5 separate regions of the Homo sapiens genome follow, and all the other regions are linked to region 1. Evidence: promoter capture Hi-C in 16 types of primary human blood cells and fetal thymus (Javierre and others, 2016). All regions are on one chromosome and are shown on one strand. The core of a region is centred on a gene start or on the middle of the fragment in contact, and the rest is flanking DNA. Distances in the headings are between cores, read along the strand shown.

Region 1 (4,663 bases), core at 1,520-4,019:
TCTTAAAATTTTTAATGTGCAAAAGATTCAGATGCAGTAGGTTTTGACGTGATCTGGGAATCTGCACTTTTGACAGACACTCCCAAGTGATTCTGATACAGGCAGTCTTCGGAAACTTTGAACTCAGGCCAAAGGATGACTAGCAAATTACCAGGTAAATGGTTTAAGCAATAATCTTTTTTATCTCTACCCTGAAGCTGATTCTCAAAACAAGTCAAATTCCATTTCAATACTTGCTTAGTATTATTTAAATTCATTGGTCTTTAAGTACAACTTATAGCCATTTTAAACCTATAATAGCTACTGTCATGGGGCAGCTACTATGTTCTACATAGTGTCATCAGTGATTTACACAGGTATATTATCCCATTTTATAGATGAAAATTTTGAGCTTCAGTTAAGTAAGTGTGGACAACCATTAAGTGCAAGAGATCTGCATGTTAATATAGTCTGTGTTCCATGGAGTCTATACTTACCACTAATTATACCCTAATAGAAGTAAAACCAATAAATAAAAGTCCATATTTGTAAATAAAGGAAGGGGAAGAATTTTACTCTCAAATACTTCTCACTTTAGAAAAAAGACTGTATGAAATTTATTTATCAGCTTTGAAAGTACATTTAAATAACGTAACAATGGCATGGCAACCTCTAAAAATGAATCAGTCTTAACAATCCTTTCCTAAAGCAAATAACCACCCTCTTAACTAATGAAAGCTGGTTCACTATTTACAGCTCTACCAGTGGTTCTCAAACTGAGCTAATGATCAAGAATCGCTTGGACGAGCGCCGTGGCTCACGCCTGTAATCCCAGCACTTTGGGAGGCCGAGGGGGGCGGATCACGAGCTCAGGAGATCGAGACCATTCTGGCTAACATGGTGAAACCCCGTCTCTACTAAATATACAGAAAAAAAAATTAGGCGGGTGTGATGGCGGGCATCTGTAGTCCCAGCTACTCCGGAGGCTGAGGCAGGAGAATGGCGTGAACCCGGGAGGCGGAGCTTGCAGTGAGCCGAGATCGCACCAGTGCACTCCCGCCTGGGCAACAGACCCAGACTCCGTCTCAAAAAAAAAAATAATAATAATAATTGCTTGAGGAAGCATCTTAAATATAAATCATAGGGGCAACCCGCTGTGGTCCCCTTCCAAGCTGTGGAAGCTTTGTTATTTCGCTCTTCACGATAAACCTTGTTACCCCTCAAAACAAACAAACAAACAAACAAAAAAAAACCACACACAAAAAAATAGGCTTCACTCCAGTTCTTCTGAATCAAAATCTCTGAGGTGTGACCCCAAGATCTTTATTTTTTAAGCTCTCCAGGGGGTTCTGATGAGTAGGGTTCAGAACTTTTGTTCCCTTAACACCGGCATTCTACAAATGAATAAATTGAGGCCCTAAAAGGGTAGGATTTGCCTAACGACACACAGCTTGTAAGTACACACAGTAGGCTGGAACAACAATATCCTGACTCTCGTTTGGTGCTTTTACACCAATTCAAGCTGCTGTTTTTGGTAAGACTGTACTTATTTCTGCTCTGCTGCTCATGCTTTGCTGGGTACTTAGTATTCACTATCCTACAACTTATTCCCTCATCTGCAATCTGGGAATAATAATAGTGCCTGCCTCTTAAGAGTTGCTGCAAGGATTAAATAGTATAACATTCATTATATAATGCACTTAACACAGTGCCTGGCATATTGTGAGTACTCATTAGCCAGGTTATGTAATCCACTTTAAAAAGTATGCCTATTTTAACTGGAGAGGATTCACTGAACCACTCCAATTACAAAATGTACAAGAAACCCATGTTCAGCTTTGGAATCCAAAAAGACTTTAAACTCAGGGTTAAGTTTAAAGTCATAGTATCTAATGTCTTGCTTTTCTAGTCATTTACTTATGCCAAAAGTTAGTTCACGCCAAGGAGAAGGATGCCTCTGTGTAGTGAAACAATTTCACAATTACTGACTGAACTGACTGTTGCACACCACTATTTCTCCTAGGATGCCTCAGAACCATCTAGTAACTCCATCTCTGGGTGACGACAGGGAATCTGCATTTATAAAAGCCCGCTCCCCCTTCTCAGGCAAACCAAGATTTGATAACCACTAGTATGTTCAGAATCCACGACCACTGTAAATGGCCTCTCAAGTCTCTCCAGCAAAAAGCTATACTGCTCTGTAACCAGAAGAGCAGCGTCATCAGGTCCTGATGCAAACAACAGCTGGGCCCAGCTGGGCCCAGCTGGGCCGAGTAACCTTGATGATCACAGAGGACGGCCTGGACCCCCTCCCCTCCTAGGAAACACAAAATTATAAAAGCGCCCTCCTGCAATTCCCGTGGGAGACAGTGCTGCCTAGGCCGCTACGAGGAGCTAAGGCTGACTCAACAGCCTCCTTCCCAGGGGCAAGGCCAAAGGAAGGCGACCCTGCATGGCTAACCAGGCCCCAGCGCGGCGCCAGAAGGTTAACGACCCTCCCTGCCCCTTTCCTTATGAAGGCCAAGAGCCTCCACTACTCCGGGGGCCAGCTGACGGAAGTGCGTCACTCCACCCTGCGGGGAGTGCCGGGAGTTGTAGTCAAGTGGCTACTAATCTTCCACCCCGATTCATCTTTTCTAAAACAAGAAAAACACCTCTGCATCCTGAAAAAGATCGCTTTATGCCCAACATGTGTAATAGTTCCTCTATTTTCCAATCAACAAACTGAACTATCTCAGAGCTCAAGCGGAAGGCCGGACTACAAGTCCCGGCATGCTCCGCAGGGTCCCCGGGCGCCCGGCCACCGTCGTAGGTGCGGGCCGCATGAATGGAGCGCCGGGCGTAAGGCAAAGCCTGGCACCGTCTGCGCGGCCGCTATCTGCTCCCGGAGCGTGAGTGCGGGGTGTGGGGCGTGCGCGTGCGCGCTCAGAGGGGGCTCAAGGCGAGCGCGCCGGGCAGTTGCGGGCGCGTGGCTGCTGAGGTTGGCGGCGGTGCCGCGCGCCCGACGGGCCGGTGGTTGCGGGGCCTCCCGCCTCGACCCGGGCTGGGGGCAGCCGTGGCGGCCGCCGGGGACCGCAAGGGGCGGAGGAAAGGAGGGGGCCGGTCCCGGCACGCAGAGGAGCAGCCGACCATGCCCCGAGACAACATGGCCTCCTTGATCCAACGGATCGCCCGCCAGGCTTGCCTCACCTTCCGGGGCAGCGGGGGCGGCCGCGGCGCTTCCGATCGCGACGCGGCTTCTGGCCCGGAGGCGCCGATGCAGCCGGGCTTCCCCGAGAACCTGAGCAAGCTGAAGAGCCTCCTGACCCAGCTCCGCGCCGAGGACTTGAACATCGCCCCGCGCAAGGCCACACTGCAGCCGCTGCCGCCCAACCTGCCGCCAGTCACCTACATGCACATCTACGAGACGGACGGCTTCAGCCTGGGCGTGTTCCTGCTCAAGAGCGGCACGTCCATCCCGCTGCACGACCACCCGGGCATGCACGGCATGCTCAAGGTGCTGTACGGCACCGTGCGCATCAGCTGCATGGACAAGCTAGACGCGGGCGGCGGGCAACGGCCGCGGGCCTTGCCGCCCGAGCAGCAGTTCGAGCCGCCGCTGCAGCCCCGGGAGCGAGAAGCCGTGCGGCCGGGCGTGCTGCGTTCGCGGGCCGAGTACACCGAGGCCAGCGGCCCCTGCATCCTCACACCGCACCGGGACAACCTGCACCAGATCGACGCCGTGGAAGGGCCTGCCGCCTTCCTGGACATCCTGGCCCCGCCCTACGACCCGGACGATGGCCGGGACTGCCACTATTACCGGGTGCTGGAGCCGGTCAGGCCCAAGGAGGCCTCCAGCTCGGCCTGTGACCTGCCTCGAGAGGTGTGGCTCCTGGAGACCCCACAGGCCGATGACTTCTGGTGCGAGGGAGAACCCTATCCAGGTCCCAAGGTCTTCCCTTGAAGCCACTGGCGCCCAGGAGCGGTGGGCCGAAGACGTGCCCTACCCTACCACAAGGGCTGTGTCTCTACCCCCTAGCCTGGGCGTTGGATCTACTGGAATGAGCAGCAGCCGCTTCCTCGGCAGCCTTGGGAAGCACGGGCGACTGGACAGCAGCCGCCGGGCACGGTTATGGGGGCGGGGTGGGCGGGGAGGCTAGATTGTTTCCTGGTACTGTCACTGCCACTGGGGCTTTGATTTGGAGGAATGGGGCAGGGGACTATCTGAAGCGCTTCCATCCTAAAGCCATAATGAAAATATCTTCCTCTCTTCCCCATTCTATACAAAATACTAAGTGGTTTTCTTGCTCCCACTCCCTACCCCTTAGTTAAATAGGGTTTATTTTCCACTCATGCCCTTATGCCTTTTTTTCTTATAGTTTTTTAACTTATTGACTGTGCATGACCCAGTGGTTTGAATTGTTTTTAGTTCAAGTCATTGGTAAAAACTAGGTTTAAGGAGATGAGCTACTGTTTAAAGTGAGCTGGCCTGCCTAATTAATTCCTTGTGAAAACTAAATGATTTTTTCAGTTTGGGGATCATTCTCACAACATAACTATGCATGTAGAGGACAAGATTTATTTTCTTTCCTCCCTTTGCCCAGTAGCCACATCTGGTTTACTCAGGCAGCATCTACTAAGAAATTCAGCACCTGCATATCTCTGTGACATGGTCACTTAGAGCTTATCTTCCCTATGAATCTCC
Region 2 (4,663 bases), core at 1,608-4,107, 370 kb before region 1:
ATACTCCCAAGAAGAAGGTTTCATTTTTTGCCTCACACATGCCTGAGATATATTTATCTGAGTCCTTTTGTATTCAACACTAGCTCTGGTTTAAGTGATGAAAAAGGTTAGAGATCTGGAATAGTGCAAGGCTCTCCACCCTAAATGCTGCAGAATGTTAGTAGCCCATTTTCAGGAGATTAAAGGATAACACTCGGCCAATAATAGCAAGATACCATAGACTTTTAATATCATCTGACAAAGACTATGGAAAAATGGCTTGTTCCCAATCAAGGGAGATCTATAATGGCTTGATCATCAGAAATGAAAAATCAATCCCAATTCTCATCCATTCTTTTAGCTACCATGCATATTATTTTTACCATGGATATTTACAGCTACATTTCCATCCAGACTTCTGGCAATGCCTAAATTCTTCCATAACAAGAAAACAAACTCATTTCTTTTAAAAACCAGTCTCTTCCCCATAGGCAAAGTGGATAAACAGCCTACTCAAATTTGATGTCATTATCTGAAATATCTAGCAAAAGACTAGTTGTATAAAAAATGATATTTCAGCATTGGTGCAAAAGAAGGCTACCCATTCTGACAGTTCTGTGGTATTTTGTCCTTTTAACTTAATGCTTGGAATGTAGGATTTCACACCTGAGACTCTTCAAAATTTTTACTTCATGGGTATTTGGTTTTTTTTGTAATACCGTAATACTTTAAGACTGTTACTTTTCTTTCTTATTCAGCCTTACTGATGCACTGGTCTGAACGTCTTTGTGAGTTTCACTTATATATATATAAAGGAGCCACCACCATCTAATGTATTATAAAAGATACTATAATTAGCGTGTAACTGGCAATCCCACCAGGCAAGCAAGCAATTTTCCAGGCCATGGGAATTTTCTTCTAGACAAATAGGAAAGTTCCAACAGCCATATAAATTAAATAGGGTAAAAAGTTGGTTAACTGGTACTAAAGTAACTAGAACCCTTAATTAAACTAAGTGATTATTTTGGGGAAGTTAAAAGAGGGTACAGGGAATCATTCTTTATATTTAGGAGAAAAAAAAGCCACTGGCAAAAAAATAAATAACAATTGAGATTTAGTTACACAATAAAATTATAGAACATATCCAGATTTGTAATAACACATAAAAATATAATGCTAAAAAGGATAATTTTGATGCTTTACAAGACCTTAGTTGTTAATTAGGTTCATTATTTCATTAAGGCAGGAAGATTTTCACCAAGAAATTTTTATTCACTAAGAAATGAATATTTCCTGAAGCCTTTTGAATCTTGCCAGCACCCTTCATGACCAACATCATTGCACTTACTAAGTTCCTGCTTCTTGTTGAGCAGAGCCAATTAACTGAAAAAGCTAATGATGGAAGGACAACCAATTGGGATCTAGTAAGATCTAGCCCTGTAGCTGGTAACATTGTGCCAGGAATTTAATATGCCTGAGCAGGCTCATCTGTAAGATGGTTATGATAGTACTGTTTATATCATAAGTTGGTTAGGAGGGTTAAATGCCTAGCTCAATGCACCGTAAACAACGAGTGCTCCAAAAAATGTGGCTAGCACACACACACACCAAGCATTTCAAACAAGACCTATAAGCAGATGGACTTCTGACTATAAACTTTCTTATAAATTCCACATAAACTCTCTCTAGCTAAGAGGGAGAGTCAAATACCACATTTAAATGTATGTATGAGAAATGTATTCTCTGTTTCCAGTGATTTCAGAATCAGAGATCATTTTGGATGGTTTATTTTAAAGTCTTCCACAATCTATACCCATAGATACAAATATATGTGTCTGTGGGTGTTTTGGAAAATAGGATTGGGTGGAGGCAGGGAAATGTATGTGGTTGAATTCAGTTAAGCAACTGGCTGTTTTGCGACTAATGATTTGTAAGTAGCAGTTTGGCTGAATTTAACTTTTTTTGTCTTTAAAAAATGTAGTTTTCTGAAATTTATCTAAAAAAGTTGATCTATATCAAGCTTTAGGGTAACTTCGTCATGGTTTCCTTGCTTTCTGGAAATTCTACGCACGTCATAGAGTAAATGTCAAATTTTAAATAGGAAATCAATATTCTTCTCTAAGAGGCTTTGAGAATAAATAGCTATTTTAATTCTTTCTCAGGAAGGGATTTCATAAGGAATTGTAATGACGGAAGCAGACAAAGTTTAAAGCGAGTTTTTAGCAAGTTATTTACATCTCATGTTATGTTTTCCAGGCAGTTAACAAACAGCCAGATCATCAGAGTAAGGTGTAACTCATAAAGCTTTTTCCTTCTAAATTCACACATATACGTACGTGTGTGTGTGAATAGTATATGCAATTTAAAGGTTGTGAGATTGGTAGCAAATGCACTTTTCTGTAAATCTCCTGGCTTCTTTTCCTTCCTTTGACCAGAAACAAGCAGCCCTGATAATTATATTCTCTACCACTAGGGGGTGACAGCTGATAATCTATCCACATACTTTAAAGTAAGACAAACCACAGGCTTGATTATGTAGGTATTAATCTTTCTTTTATTGGTCGCCTGGTGAGATTTGGTTTGATGAGTTTTATTTGCTGAACACGCTCTACATCCAACATCATTCTTCTGTCGTGATGCATAGCATGGGCCTGTTGGAATAACAGCTGGTGCTGGACAGCTTTGTAGATTTCAAGTAACTGTGTATGGGAAATTAGTTAACAGATAGGAGCATTTATTCACTCATGCATTCATTTCATAAATATTGAGAGTCCACAGATCCTGTGACAAGGACTGAAGATACAATGGAGAACAGGAATATTATATCTGTTTTCATACAGTATTTTCTTGTTTTTGTTTTTGTTTTTTTTTTTTTGAGACAGAGTCTCACTCCATCACCCAGGCTGGAGTGCAATGGCTCTATCTCAGCTCACTGCAACCTCCGCCTCCCAGGCTCAAGCGATTCTCGTGCCTCAGCCTCCCTGGTAGCTGGGATTACAGGCGCAGCAACCATGCCAGGCTAATTTTTGTATTTTTAGTAGAGATGAGGTTTCGCCACATTGCCCAGGCTGGTCTCAAACTCCTGGCCTCAAGTGATACACCCGCGTTGGCCTCCCAAAATGCTGGGATTACAGGAATGAGCTACCATGCCCAGCCACATAGAGTTTTTATTGAAAGGGGAAAGACTACAAAAACCAGGTAAACAAACACATACATAAAGTAATTTTGAGTGTTAACAAGATAGATAAAGGAAAAAAACATGAAGGGCAGATACAGAATAACTGGCATTAAGGAAGAGATATAACATTAGATCAAGTCACTCCCTTATCTAAGGCCTTTGCTATTCTCTTATGTAAGCAGAAGATTCAGAGGCACACTGTGCCTTACTCCGGGTGCTTTCCACTTGAATAGATTCTGGCAAAATCCTCATAACTCAGCATTTCGGTGCCTTTGAAGCTTGCAATAGCTGATGAATGGTATCTAGCACCAGTATCCTTCCTCAGTATGCTTCTCACAGTACTTAGAAAGCTTTATTAAGGTAGGCATCAAGCAGAAAGAATTTGCCTGGTCTCTATTCCTTCTGCATTACAGCCTCACTAACTTGCAAGCATTTTGTCTAATTAGCTAGAGTGCTTCTTGAGAAATACACACACAAACACATTTCAAATAGAAAATAGTGCTCATTTAAGGTCATTTAGCATGGAAAATAAAATTATTCTAATGGTATGAATATCGGTAAGACTATCACCTTGCTGTTGTTGATACTACACTTATGGTTTCTGGTCAGTATAGATATTTTAATTCCATTTCCCACTTTCTTAGTTTTTCTCCCTTACTTGAAATCTCCTTCATCTTTACCAATTTAAATTCTTCTCATCTTTCAACTAATAATGGGTCTATTCTTTCTCTTCTCGGTCTCTGTCTTCCTCTCTCTCTTTACATTTTCCTCATGCCATGTGTATTCCTTCATTGTGTTTATTCCAGAAGCACTCACGTGATTGAGCAATTGATTAAATAATCTTTACTTAGAATTTTATGATTATTTCAACTCTAGCAAAAAAAAAAAAAAATGTTGACTCACTACCTAACAATGCCTCCCTTTCCCAGATTCTCTTGCAGCTAGGGATGGGATGTGTAGCTCGGTTTAGCCAATGAAGCATAGGGGAAATACACTGATATCTTCTGAGAAAGACATATTCTTTATAACAAAGATGGGAAAGCATATGTGCAAGCCCTCTAATAGCTGTGGCTCTTCCTTTGCCCTGACTTTGCATGAGGTTATAAAGGATTTAATGTCTGGATCTGCAAAATTATCTTGTGAACAAAATGGGAAACCCAAGGGACTCTTGAAGATGTCAACCCAGTGACCTTGACAATGTGGAGCTGGTAAATCAGCTCTGAAATGACCATCCTCCAGCTTCTTATATCTTCTATTACTTAATTTAATGTCTTTATTGTTTATGCCACTAATAATTTGGTGTACTGTTACTGAGAGCCAAACATATCCTAACTGACACAATCTAAATATTAAAATCCCTCAAAAATATCATCTCACTTTTAATTTTGATACTTCTTAGAACCTGGCCCAGTGCTTGAGACAGAGTGGTGGCTAAATAAACATGTGCAATCTGCATGTTTTTCCTTTGTCCTGTCCGCACTTTCTCCCGCACAAAATGGACTTCTT
Region 3 (4,663 bases), core at 1,192-3,691, 320 kb after region 1:
CTTCCCAATTCCAATGGTGAAATGTCCTAGAATCTTTTATGGTGGGATGGTGCCTGAAGCTCTTGTGAGTGGAGAAGCTGTTGCTGGTGCCTCCTGGGCTGCTTCTGCCCTTGTTCTTTTTGTAATTTATTTATTTACTTTTTAGAGACAGTTTCTGGCTCTGTCACCCAGGCTGGAGTGCAGTGGCCCAATTATAGCTCACCGCACCCTCAAACTCCCGGGTTCAAGCAGTCTTCCCATCTTGGCCTCCCAAAATGCTGGAATTGCAGGTGTGAGCCACCATGCTTAGCCCTTTTTAAAATTTCTAATGGTCTCATGGCTAACGACTGGCAGGAAGATAATTTTCAGATTTACTTATCTTCATTTGTCTTGCTGCTATCTTCACATAACCTCCTGTAATGGAGGATTCTCTAATTTAGAGTTCTATGTTCTGTACCTTCCCCTTGCTTCCTATCTTTCCATCTGGACCTCAGCACTGACCTGGGAAACTCTCTCTCATCCCATTCATTTATGCAGCCTTTATTCTGTTATTATTATTATTTTCAGATCCAGACCTACAGATGCAGCCTTTACTCTATAAGATTGAAAGGAGAGATCTCCCTACTGGCCCTTTTGCTGTTTTCACAACACTCCTGCTAGTGATCTCTACTACTGTAGTCACCACACTCGTTCTGCCTTCTGGGGATCCCTTGGCAGCCCCTGGCCACATGCTAGACATGCTCTCCAAGGATATGCATGAAGCACCCGCACAGCTAATTTAACACCCACTGAGGACGCGCTGGTGGTCCTGCTGTGACCATCCTGGCTCCTTTTCCTCCTGGGCCCTTGCTGGCTGCCCCTGACATTGCTGTGCTATCTGTTCTGGACATGTGGACTTGGATGCAGCCAAGCGCCCAGCACTACTCTGGGGCCTGCTGCTGCCCCTGCTACTCCCAACCCTGCTGTTGTCCCTGTTACTGTCTCTGTGGCAGGCCTTGTAGGTTTTGTGACTACAGAAGAATGCTCTTGGGTGGCTTCACTGGGCAGTCTGCAAACATCATATGTGTGGCAGGTGCACTGGACTCCCTCTCCTACTGCATAATGGAGGTTCATCTTTTTCTCCTGCTCAGCAGAGAAGCTCAGAAAGCAGAAAGTGGGACCAGGACAGTCTGCTCCACTCTCTCCCCATAAATGAGCAAACCAAGGACTTATAACCGGACAGGCTTTTGAGGTAACCAATCCAAGCTTCCACCTGATGCAGGAATCCCTCTCTCTAGCAGGCCTGTCAAATGGTCTGGCTAGTTTTGTTTGAACTATTCCAAAATTAGGGAGGGTACTATTATGGCACCCCAATGAACATCCTCACATACCTTTATTTTCTACCTCTGTGCTAGTATTTCTGTAGAGAAGGTTTCTACAATGGGGATTGCTGAGTCAAGGATATGCACATTTTGCATTTTGATACAGGGAACAGATTGTGCCTGGTTGCACACACATATGTTATAGTGATTTATAAGAAAAAAAAATTCAGAGCATAGCAGTCATGGGAAGACAGATTACAATTCACACAAATGAAAGACTTTCTAATAGTAAAAAAAAAAATCCAATATCAAATATACAAATGTTAGAATTTTAAAATATATCCTACCACAGATTGGTCTGCCTTGATTTGAGTAGTTCAAGGAGAGACTGGATTATCATGATGGTAAAGAGATAATTATAATAATTACAATATTGAGTATGAGATTAGAGCAGCTAATATCCAAGGAATGTCTGAAATTAAGCCTTGTGGCACATTCTGGAGAAGCATCAAGAACCTGTCCAATGTGGCAAATACCTCAATACTGGCCCATTTAGGCTTGGGCTCTTTGACATGAAATGCATTTTCCTGGGGAGCCTTGAAGAGCACCAAAGGCTTTGCAGGACCAGCTTTTAGATGCTCTCTCAAAGCACCCAGGCCCCATTTTTTCTGAGTTGCAGAAGCCTTACTGCTTGGCTCTTCTTGTCTCTCATTTAATAATAGGCATTTCCATTGTGTCTCTAGTTGGGATTGCCTAGGGATTAGTGCAACTCTCCACTGGTGGTCTCAGAAAATAAATGGCTTTTTCTGATAACTAAAGAAGTCTTCCATGTATCCGAAGGGATACAAAAATGCAAAACAAAGAACACCCTGTAGCAAGTTCAGGCGTAGCTACTGTTTCCCAAATATCAAGGGAAGAAAGCTGGATAGGTTTTATTTGTTTGTTTGTTTGTTTGTTTGTTTTTTCCAAGACAGAGTCTTGCTCTGTGGCCAGGCTGAAGTGCAGTGGCACAATCTCGGCTCACTGCAACCTCCGCCTCCCAAGTTCAAGCGATTCTCCTGCCTCAGCCTCCCGAGTAGCTGGGATTACAGAAGGGTGCCACCACACCCAGCTAATATTTATATTCTTAGTAGAGATGGGATTTCACTGTGTTGGCCAGGCTGCTCTCGAACTCCTGACCTCGTGATCCACCTGCTTCGGCCTCCCAAAGTGCTGGGATTACAGGCGTGAGCCACCGTTCCTGGCCAAAACCCGGATAGTTTTAAAGTCTTTGTAGGTGCTATGGATTGAATGTGTCCCCCAAAAAGCAAATATTGGAAACTTAATCCCCAATGCAACAGTGTTAATAGGTGGCACCTTTGAGAGGCGATTAGGCCATAATGGCTCCACCCTTATGAATGGACTTAGGCCAGTTATAAAAGGTCTTGAGGCTGCAAGTTTGATCTCTTGCTTTCTTGCATGCATGCTCTCTTGCCCTTCTACCTTCCCCCATGGGATGCTGTAGCAATGTTTTAGGACCAACAGCTTGCATGCCAGATGTGCAGTAACAGACTGAGACAGCAGAGTTTGCAGCAGACAAAGAGTTTAATGATCACAGTGCACAGGGCCAGCAGATGGGAGGAGGCCCTCAAATTAATCTCCCCAAGGACTTCTGGGCTGGGGTTTTTAAGTGAATCATGGGGGATGAGGGGCTGGAAAATGGAAGTCATTAGTTGTGGTAAAAGGAATGAAATAATCAGGACATGGCAACTGCATTATTTGGTGAGTCAGCTTCTTGTTGGGTCCTTCAGACCAGCTGGTGTCAGTAGTTTCACTGGTATGCAGGACTTGACAGATTATCTCAAAGAGGAAAACTTAATGTTTTATAATGTTCAAGTTGTTATCTATAGAGCAGGGGTCCCCAACCCCCCATGCCACAAACTGGTAATTGTCCACGGCCTGTTAGGAACCAGGCCGCACAGCAGGAGGTGAACAGTGGGCAAGCAAGAATTACCACCTGAACTCCGCCTCCTGTCAGATCAGTGGCAGCATTAGATTCTCATAGGAGCACAAACCCTGTAGTGAACTGCACATGATCTAGGTTGCTGAGGGGTCTAGGTTGCTGGCTCCTTATCTAATGAGAATCTAATGCCTGATGATCTGAGATGGGGCAGTTTCATCCCAAAACCACCCCGCAACCCTCGTCTGTGGAAAAATTGTCTTCCACTAAACCAGTCTCTGATGTCAAAAAGGTTGGGAACTGCTGCTACAGAGCATTTAAGGGGATCTATAATCTTGTAACAGGGTCTATGTGATTCTGAGGCAATAGGCAGCAAATAACTATGAGGCAGCAGGTTAGGGAGAGCAAGCTGATCTTATAATTCATGCTGAATGTGCTGCAAGCTTGGTTTATTTTTGTTTTTCCCCTTTCCTTCTTCCCTGATTAATTCATAAAGTTTATAAGCATAGTTTCAGTAAGAAGGCCCTCACCAGATGTGAGCCCCTCAACCTTTGACTACCCAGCCTCTAAGACTGTAAGAAATAAATCCCTGTTCTTTATAAATTACCTAGTCTCAGGTATTCTGTTACAGCAGCACAAAATAGACTAAGACAGTAGGTTTATAATATCTTCCCTTAATAGCCTGGCCAAGTCCAGCATGCTCTTCACAGCCTGTGACTGACTGACCAACAGCATGACATCAAATGGCAGAGGATGGCACAGGTGGGTGCTATGCCCATCATCACCATTTGGACATGGTTGTAAAATTCCATCCTTTCTCCTCTTTTGCTGATCCTGATGAAGTGGTTGTCACACGTCAGTGTGTTTGGCATGTACCTGAATATATCACATTTTCCTTCCTGTTGAGTAGTTGCTGAAGATGCCCTCAGAGGTATTAAGCCCACTGTGCAGCAGCCTCTGTGGATTGAGTAGTGCAATGACATGAATTCACTACTCATGGTTATTGTTTTTTTCTTTATTTTTTCTTTTTGACATGGAGTTTTGCTCTTGTTGCCCAGGCTGGAGTGCAATGGTGCTATCTTGGCTCACTGCAACCTCTGCCTCCCAGGTTCAAGTGATTCTCCTGCCTTAGCCACCTGAGTAGCTGGGATTACAGGCATGCGCCACCACGCCTGGCTAATTTTGTATTTTTAGTAGAGTTGGGGGTTTCATCATGTTGGTCAGGCTGGTCTCGAACTCCCCACCTCAGGTGATCTGCCTATCTCAGCCTCCCAAAATGCTGGGATTACAGGCGTGAGCCACCTTGCCTGGCCATGATGATTGTTTTTCAAGAAAATTCTGCCTCTGAATTCCACTCTCTTGAGGGGTCTGCAATAGTTTTCTATGCCACATAACAAACTTAGCGGCTTAAGACAACACACGTGTATTACCTCATAATTGTTGT
Region 4 (4,663 bases), core at 1,409-3,908, 270 kb after region 1:
TTTGTTGCGAAACAATGTGAATATACCTCCCACTGCTGAACTGCACAGTTTAAAAACGGTTATGAGAGTAAATGTTACGTTATGTGGTTTGTTGTTTGCTTTTGTTTTTGTTTTTATTCTTGAGGCAGAGTCTTGCTCTGTCGCCCAGGCTGGAGCGCAGTGATGCGATCTCAGCTCAATGCTGAGATCACTCCATCCCCTGGGTTCAAGAGATTCTCCTCCCTCAGTCTCCTGAGTAGCTGGGATTACAGGTGTGTGCCACCATGTCTGGCTAATTTTTGTGTTTTTAGTAGAGACAGGGTTTCACCATGTTGGCCAGGCTGGTCTCAAACTCCTGACCTCATGTAATCCACCTGCCTCGGCCTCCCAAAGTGCTGGGATTACAGGCATGAGCCATTACGCTCAGTTATGTTATGTGTTTTTTAATCACAATTTATTTTAAGTTGTTTATAAATACACACACACACTATATATAGATATAGATATCTATATATATCTATATACACGTATATAGTTTTTTTTTTTGAGACAGAGTCTCGCTCTGTCACCCAGGCTAGAGTGCAGTGGCACTGTCTTGGCTCACTGCAGCCTCTGCCTCCCAGGTTCAAGCAGTTCTCTTGCCCCAGCTTCCTGAGTAGCTGGGACTACAGGTGCACGCCACCATGCCCAGCTAATTTTTGTATTTTTTGTAGAGACGGGGTTTCACTGTGTTGGCCAGGCTGGTCTTGAACTCCTGACCTCAGGTAATCTGCCTGCCTCTGCCTCCCAAAGAGTGGGATTACAGGCATGAGCCACCGTGCCTGGCCAAGTTGTTGTTATATTTTAAATAGAACTTAAAACCTAATACTGACTTTTCAGTCTTGCCAAGAGGGAAAGAAACAGGAACTATCATTTGCTGGTGACAGGTACTCACAGACAGACACACTGCTTCTGTAGAAGGCAGGTCAAATAGCAGCAGGCTCACCCTAGGGCTTGAAATGAAGTCCTAATTGAGCACACAGCACCCTGAAGCAATCTTCAAATCTCCATCACACCACACTCTTTTTGTCCAGGTTAATTAGATAGAGGCAGTAAAGCATGAGGCATTTATGTGCATTATCTTATCTAATCTCACAACAAAGTCACAAAGTGGGCATCTGTATGCCGGTGTCACATATGAAAAAACACATAACTGGTGAGTGGAAATACAAACTGTCAGCTTCCAGATGTTGTGTTTTTCTTACTGAGACTTCCAGTGCTCATCCATACCCCTTTCTCCTCATTTTCCTGAACTCCCTGAGGAAAACATACCCCAGCCACTCTTGCTGCCAGGCAGGAACATGTAACCCACGTAGGTCATCTGGGTCTCGGGCAGCAAAAAGCCCCGTGAGACTCTCCAGGTGCTCTTCCTTGGCTCGGGCAACTCTGGCAGCCATGTGCCGAGGTGGTGGGATTGGATATCTGAGTCACCTTGGGAACGGAAGATACCTCAGAGAACCCACTCAACCCACAGCAGGCTTTGTGTGAGTGAGAAGAAAACTGTTGCATGTTTAGCCACAGGGGCTTCAAGCATTCATGTTACTTCAGGATTGCTTATCCTGGTCTGCCTAATACACTTCTGTAGACTCAGAAAATGGTTGGTTAGGATTGGTGCCATGAGCTGAAGTATTTGTCCATGTAATAATCAAAAATGCTTTTTACCGGCTGGGCATGATGGCTCACACATGTAATCCCAGAACTTTGGGAGGCTGAGGCGGGTGGATCACTTGAGGTCAGGAGTTTGAGACAAGCCTGGCCAATACCGTGAAACCCCGTTTCTACCAAAAATACAAAACATTAGCTGGGCGTGGTGGCAAGCGCCTGTAATTCCAGCTACTTGGGAGACTGAGGTGAGAGAATCGCTTGAACCCAGGAGGCAGAGGTTGCAGTGAGCCAAGACTGCACCATTGCACTCCAGTCTGGGCATCAGAATGAGACTCCATTTCAAAAAAAAAAAATGCTTTTTACCTGAGCCTCATCACTCAAGTCCATGTTCATATTTTACAATCATCTAGCATCCTAATTACCAAACTTCTCCCCACCTCCTCCTTCTCCTCCTCTCTTTCCTTCTTCTTTTTCATAAGATGAATGAGATATTGAGTCTCATGTTAGAACAACCTAAATCAACTGGTTTTACCCTTCTCACATTGACATGGGATAGTGTTCTTGACCAAGCATGTCATGTCCTCCAAAGGCCAACCTTACTGTAGTTTTCCTAAAATGGGGTACTCAAATAAATTTTAGGTACTTCACAAATGATTTTGTAGTAGTTACATATTTATCTGAAAGTGTATTAGAAAAATATGCATAAGTATATAACATATGTATGTGATTCCATGCTTATTGCTGCTTACAACAATGCTAAAGGAGATATTTGTGTTTTTAAAGTAGATGTACGTTTTTAGAAAGTAAAAAACAGCAGGGCAGCCTGTGCACTGGTACAGCAAAAATCCTGGACCCAAAAAAAAGCCCTGAGCCAGGGTGAGAACCCTCTAAGCAGAGTCAGTGCTGGTCATGCCAGGTGATCAGCTCTCCCTCCTCCCCTCTAGCCTTTGGAGAGTATGATAAAAGGAACACCCTCTTGTCTGTGTTTCCTCCCACCACAGGGGCAGGTAGGCAAATCCTCCCTGCCCAGGCTTTTCCTCCTAGCACCAAACAGCTGTCCATGAAAGCCCACAGATCACTAGACAGAGCTATGAAAGCGTCTAAGAGCTAAATTCGATATCCGTCTTTTCTTAGTAGAGCTCAAGATCTCATTATCAAGAGTGGAGCTGATTGTTCAGCTGATCCCATAAGAGACCCTGCTGCTTTCTGCTGGCAGGGGCAGGAGGTGCAGGGGTGGAACCCTGGGCTAAGGCTGAGTCTCTATTGCTCAAACATTGCTGTAATGTTTAGCCTGGGTCCCTGCCAGGTTCTCAGGATGGGGGCAAGTCGTCCAACTGGTCGCAGTCTGAGCACCTGGGTTCTCTGGCAAAAGGTGGTATAAAAATGCAGAGATAGGCTGGGCGCAGTGGCTCACGCCTATAATCCCAGCACTTCGGGAGGCTGAGGCGGGTGAATCACGTGGTCAGGAGTTTGAAACCAGCCTGGCCGATGTGGCGAAACCCTGTCTGTACTAAAACTACAAAAAAAAATTAACCAGGTGTGGTGGTGCATGCCTATAATCCCAGCTACTCGGGAGGCTGAGGCAGGAGAATCACTTGAACCTGGGATGCGGAGGTTGCAGTGAGCCCAGATTATGCCACTGCACTCCAGCATGGGTGACAGTGAGACTCTGTCGCAAAAAAAAAAAAAAAGAAAAGAAAAGAAAAGAAAAAGAAAAAGAAAAAAATGCAGAGATAGGTAGATTGATCCCGCCTCCCATATGTTTAGGCGTTTAGCACAAACTGAAATACATGAATGGTTTGCCCTAGTCAGAACTCCAAAGGCTGCTTTAACATTAGCATCACTGCCTCTGTGCTATACTATATTTAGATAAAGGTGCCATCTTGCTTTCTGCATGATTCTCCCCTTCCTTCTGCCTTTAGTTTGACCCAGGGGAATTCACAACACATTCTGGGTTCTTATCTTCTGTAGAACGAGTTGCAGTTTCCTCGCCACCATGAGCATGTTGCCTCCCCCCTCAGCCCTTAGTAATTTGTCAAGTGACACGGCTGAGTCTTGGCTCTGTCTCCCTTCCTCTGGTCTTCCAATAACAATCCATAACTATTCTCTTCCATGGACCTAAATCAAACAGAATTCAGACCCAAAATGGAAAAGGAGAAACAGGGTCATGGGAATAGGACATTGATTTCCTCCCATTGGACACCAGCCTGGTCCAGAGCCAATCACCTGGGCCCCCAGGATGTGGTGAAGGGGAGGAGAGGAAGCTGTTCTCCCCAACCTAGCTGGTTTGGCCCACTGAATTTCTGCCATCATTCATAAAAGTCATCTGTAGGCCAGAGGAGTCCCTCTGGAATAAGAAGGGGGAAAAAAAAAAAAAGCAAGGGAAGCAGCCAAAACTAGAGATGTTTTGTTTGTTTGTTTGTTAAGACAGGATCCCACTCTGTGGCCCAGCCTAGAGTGCAGTGGCACTATCATAGCTCACCGCAACCATGAACTCCTGGGCTCAAGCAATCCTCCCACCTCAGCCTCCTGAGTAGCTGGAACTGCAGGCACAAGCCACTACATCCAGCTAATTTTTTTGTATTTTTTTTTTTTGCAGAGTCGGAGTCTCACTATGTTGCCCAGGCTGGTCTCAAACTCTTGGCCTCAAGCCATCCTCCTGCCTTGGCCTTCCAAAGTCCTGGAATTATATGTGTGAGCCACCCCACCCAGCCTAGAGAAGATTTTCCAAAGGAAATTTTCCCAAAACGGAAAAGGATAGACTGTTAATCTGTTACTCCACTTGGGAGCCTGGAGCGATTGTGAAAGGAGCTATGTAAGCAAGGACATTTTCAATTTGTAGGTGAGTTGGGTATTGAGGTGGAGAATATGTGGCCCAAAGTGGGAAAACAGGAGTAAGATAAAGAGCGGGAGAGAAAACTGTTGGAAAACCCCCTGGAATTGGTGCGACTTCTGAGCTAGCTTTGAGCCTGCTGGGGCAGCATGAATTTCTGCCCAAGCCCTCGGGGACTCTCACAGAGCACCTCGCCTGGTTGGTGAG
Region 5 (4,663 bases), core at 806-3,305, 260 kb before region 1:
CTCAATGAGTCACTTATGGATCTCAGGGCCAATTTTGTTCCCAAGACAAAATGCCAAGGCCAAGATGAGTTCCAGTTTTGTGCTAATGATTTCAAATTCTTAAGGCTTAGAAACCCCCCCAAGTGCCACACAGATACCAAAATGATTAAATGGTGGCCTCTGTAGAAGGCAGGCTCTCCATCCTTTGCTGAACCAAAGGGCTATTTTCCCGTTCTCTTAGATAGCTTCTACTTCAGAAGTATAATCTATTCTCTCCCACTCATCCAGTCTCAAGAGAATTGGAACTATTTTGCAATAAAAGATGTGTAAGGCTGACCCTCCCTGCCTACGCTGCTCTCTGCTTAAATGGGTTGAGTCAGTATTTCCTCTTTTTCTAATTCAGCAATGGGCCAGCTGGTTTTGTCTGATAGACTAAGACCCAATTAAATGACCTTCTTTCTAACCAGGAAAACAATAGAGGTAAGCAATTATTTAATTAATGGAATCAAAGAAGACTGTGAAACATATAAATTTAGATTCTAAAACTTATTTCTTTCAGAGCAATATTTTGGGAAATTTCCATAGGAGAGTGATTTGTTTCCATTGTGAAACTTTGAATTACATAACAGAAACTATGTCTTGCTTTCCATTGATTGTATGACAACCTAGAGGGATGAAAATTATTTAGATGAGGAAATAAAAAATATTATTTGTTGTTTTTGGTTTCAAAGCCCAACAAAAATCTATTTAGGCTGCATGACCTAAATAGTCTCTTACATAATTGTTTTCACTGTGTTAGGGTTTGGTATTATATCTGCAGTTTACATTAAAAGGTCCTACAAGAAACAACCATATGAAAACTAATTTTGCATTTAATTTGGGGATATGATTTAAATACAGTTTCCACCATAACTCAGTGTCTCTCTATGATGCCCCACCCAAGACATTTCTTAAAGAACTAAGTTTCACAAGAAACAGTGCCTCTCTTGAAGAACTATCAATTTTCTCCTCAAAGACAATGACAAATAATAACTAATTGAGTATCTCTTTTATGCAGTTGTTTTGCCTGTTAGGAAGTTCAAAGAAAGATGTGTGGTTCAACTTCAGTATGAAACTCTAAATATATTCTGGAGTTAGAAATGGCTCAAGCAATACAGACCTGTAGTATCTCATTCACAAGAAGGCTGGAGACAGGTGACTATTGGCACTGGTACTGCTGCTCATTGATGTTATCAAAACACAGGCCTTTTCCTTTTATTTTTCTGCTCTTCTGTCTTTGGCTGTTGTCTTCTTGGTCCAATGGTTGGTGCCTCATGTCACCTGATTGCAGCCACAGAAGCAAACCACATATCCACATTCAGGTCAGAAAGAAAGAGAAGGGGTGGGTCAGCAAGATCTCTTCTCCCTGTCCGTAAGAAAAGAACACAAAAGCTTTTCCAGAACTGATCTGCTTATATCTCACTGGCATCTCTGGATCACATGACTGCCCAACAAACTCAGAGTTATGTTAGCCAAAAAGAGGTGGAGAGTGCGTAGAAAATTAGTAACTATAACAACATATTTTCCGTGGTTCTCTTTTTATAAGCGTTCTTAAAGTCAGTCTTGAATCTAAGGAATTGAGAAAAGTTTAAGATATGGCCCTTGCTTTCTTTCTATAAGCCTTCAGTGGGGAGGCAATTCATTAACGGAAAATTAGATAATAATGAGACGATAATAACAAGTCAGTAATACATGAGGTACATAATGCAATTCATGATGAACTACCAAACAAATGGTCTAGATAGTCAATGTTGAAGGATCTCACTATGATTTGGGATGAATAGGATGGATTTCAAAGAATAAGAAGGGTTTGATATAAATCTTACAAAGGAATAAAAGACATAACTGAATCTCTTCTTTTGTCATTAAGCCCAGAGATACATGTATTCTGATATAATTTTCGTTTGAAAACACACCATCTTCTTCAATTTAGAGTCAACCTTGGACTTTTAGAGATTTGTTGAGGATCCATGGTCCTTTGGTCACCTGAAAATCAAAAGTCAAGCGATAATGTAAAATAGCATAAAAAGAAAAAGATAGGTAGCTAATGTAAAAAACTAATGAGTAAGTGTGTCTATGGAGTACAGGAATTGGAAGACTCTAGTAGAGGGAGGAGAGCAGGAAGTTTGAACTCTGAACATATGGAGAACAATTCCAGTTGACATTTACTAGTTGTGTAATCTTGGGCAAACTCTTTAACTTCTTCAGTCTTGGATTTTCTCATATGTAAAATGAAGATGATAATTTTCCTCACATTGATTTGTGGAGATTATATAAACTAATACTGTAGATAGTGCTGTGTAAACTTAATATTAAGGTACAAAGTATTATTTAAAAGTGATACTCATTTCAGTGATAATCTTCTTTATATAGATTTGATTACTATCACCGCATCAAAATGCCCATCCGATAACTAGGTTCTCCATTGATTTCACATCTAGTGTTGGGGACCAAAGCTAACAAGTCCACTTAGGCCAGGGTTAGTAACATACCTTGGTCTCTGACACCACAGGCAAGGATCAGGTGTTCTGGTTCTCCCAGGGGTTAGCTCCCTCCCCTCTAGGGTCAGTCAGCTTAGAGAAATTCTCAGCTCTCAGGATCAGTGGGGATAATTCCGGGTCTGCACATAATACTGGTTCAACTAGAAGTCATGCCCATGTTAAAAGTGGGTTGTTAATGGAGCAAGCTTTTACCTTTACATTTTGAAAAAACTTGACATCACATCAGTAAAAATGGAATGAACCTCTGAAGAAAGGTTATGGGATAAGAACAGCATACTGGTGTTCAACAGTAGTTCAATCTGTATCTACTAGATTTGTTCATGGAAAACTTAATTTTGGAAACAGTAGAGTGATGGGCACTCTGCAGCTGTCCTACCACTAGCCTCCTGAAATAATTAACAAAATGAGAAAATAACCCATTCATATATTTTAAAGAAACTCCCACATGGAGCACTAAGTACTAGACAGGTTGCAGAAATTTTCCTCTAATTCTAGTTCTGTAGATGTGCAGTAAGGGGAAGGATACACAAGCCAGTCTAAAATAGAACCCAGTGGGTCCCATCCATTCTATTTTGGGGAAATTCAGCAAAGTGCGTACTGGGCTTACAGAAGTGTTGTAATGAAAGTTATATGAAAACTTGCAGGTGCCCATTTATTGGACCCACCCTACTGGGTCCAGTAAAATAAATGTTAATTTTGCAGACAATGAGAGGTTGTAACTGAGCATATGCCTCACATAGTTGACTGGCTATTATACTCTTAGGGCACAGCGTCCAAAGAAATTCCAGACATGGTACTCACTCTCATTATTTTCTGTTGAGCTGATATTTAGCTGGAATAAAAGACTTTAAACAAATAGTCCAGATGGGTTACTGACGTTGACAACATAGAATAATCATTTCAATTTAAACCACTAGTTTCCTGGACATCCTAAAATTTCCAATTCTGTTGCTAGGAAAAGAAATGAAATTTTATGTTTACTGCATCGCTCTATGACACTCTTCATAAATTAATCATTCTCTAGGCACCTTGGGAGAATAAAATTAACATGTTTTTAGGTACTTACTAAGTGCCCAGATCTTACATATGGCATCTGACTTAATCCTCATAGCCAGTCCAAGGGTAGGTGTTGTTATCATGTTTTCCCAGATAAAGTGAAATCTGGGAAGGTTACCCATTTGACTCAAAATCACAAAGAGATAGCGTGGGGATTCTAAGGAGAACTTATCAATTGCACAATCTCCTATCTGCATTCATTTTGAAGATAATTATTCTTCCACTATAGCAGATTGTCTATGAGTAGACAATTAAGAATGCATATATATATATGTATATATATATAATGTATAAATACACACATTGCCTTCTTTTGACTGCAGTGTCTAAGAAATGGGGTTAGGAGGAATTGTGACAGATTGGATTTTCTAATTACCTGAGGGTTAATAGTCCTCTGAAAACTTTGTTGCAACTATTTCTGAAAGGAATCTACTCTGTCCATTGGCTTAGCAGAATACAGTGACTAAGACAATCTTTTCTCTGATTTTGTCATAGTGTTGACCAGATTTTTGCTCAAATGTCACCTAATCAGAAAGTCTTCCTGTGGCTGCGCTTGATAAAATAGCACCATCACCCCCACTCTCTCCTTGCATTGCTCTACTTTTCCCTTCACAGCACTTATCACTAACTGTTATATTACATATTTATTTACTTTCTGTCTACCCCCTCTCCCTTAGAATGTAAGCTCTATAAGAGAAGACTCTATTATATCCAGAGCTGTTTCTCTAGGGCCTAGAATGGTGCCTGGAATATAGTAGGCACTCAAACAATGTTTATTGAATGAATAAATCCAATTCATATTAGTTTTAACTATTTGGTCCTATTGCCACAAATACATAGGGCTGAATCTGGATGCGTGACACTCCTGTCACCTATTAATTGGTATGTGGAGGTGGAGTTATTGATGATAAAGCTTTTGCCATTTTATCCAGTTCTTCCTTATGCAAATAGGCATGGAGCTGTAATTTCAGTAAATTAAGGCTGCTGGTCAGTTGGAATTGGTCCATTTGGCTATCAGGGTTTCCTATAACTTGAGGAAAATGATTGGTTTCTTGTTTGCTGTTTCTTACATCATGCAATATTTTATC

The links. Contacts are between HindIII fragments. The CHiCAGO score rates a contact against its expected background, and 5 or more counts as called.
Region 2: a fragment that was not itself captured here is called in contact with the fragment with the promoter of ADO in region 1 in 7 of 17 cell types (M2 macrophages, M1 macrophages, total B cells and 4 more); the score reaches 14.2 in M2 macrophages.
Region 3: a contact is called between a fragment that was not itself captured here and the fragment with the promoter of ADO in region 1, in 1 of 17 cell types (neutrophils). The highest score is 5.3, in neutrophils.
Region 4: a contact is called between a fragment that was not itself captured here and the fragment with the promoter of ADO in region 1, in 2 of 17 cell types (M2 macrophages and neutrophils). The highest score is 5.5, in M2 macrophages.
Region 5: a fragment that was not itself captured here is called in contact with the fragment with the promoter of ADO in region 1 in 3 of 17 cell types (M2 macrophages, M1 macrophages and M0 macrophages); the score reaches 7.7 in M2 macrophages.

Annotation. Positions count from the first base shown.
Region 1 is chr10:62,801,951-62,806,613 of GRCh38, forward strand. ADO (2-aminoethanethiol dioxygenase) reads left to right here and starts at 2,770. Exons shown (of 1, transcript NM_032804.6): 1 at 2,770-4,663. The coding sequence starts at 3,110. The coding sequence ends at 3,922. RefSeq lists enhancers at 2,525-2,784, 3,255-3,374 and a silencer at 2,825-3,074. The HindIII fragment of the contact is 5,397 bases long and covers 1,159-4,663 here.
Region 2 is chr10:62,435,353-62,440,015 of GRCh38, forward strand. It overlaps a transcript of ZNF365 not described here. Among named protein-coding and RNA genes, the nearest start is that of ZNF365, 63 kb to the left of the region's middle. The HindIII fragment of the contact is 1,152 bases long and covers 2,282-3,433 here.
Region 3 is chr10:63,117,792-63,122,454 of GRCh38, forward strand. No RefSeq gene overlaps it. Among named protein-coding and RNA genes, the nearest start is that of NRBF2, 13 kb to the right of the region's middle. The HindIII fragment of the contact is 2,438 bases long and covers 1,223-3,660 here.
Region 4 is chr10:63,068,415-63,073,077 of GRCh38, forward strand. No RefSeq gene overlaps it. Among named protein-coding and RNA genes, the nearest start is that of NRBF2, 63 kb to the right of the region's middle. RefSeq lists an enhancer at 615-784 and a cis regulatory region at 700. The HindIII fragment of the contact is 6,797 bases long and covers 1-4,663 here.
Region 5 is chr10:62,545,557-62,550,219 of GRCh38, forward strand. No RefSeq gene overlaps it. Among named protein-coding and RNA genes, the nearest start is that of ZNF365, 170 kb to the left of the region's middle. The HindIII fragment of the contact is 1,294 bases long and covers 1,409-2,702 here.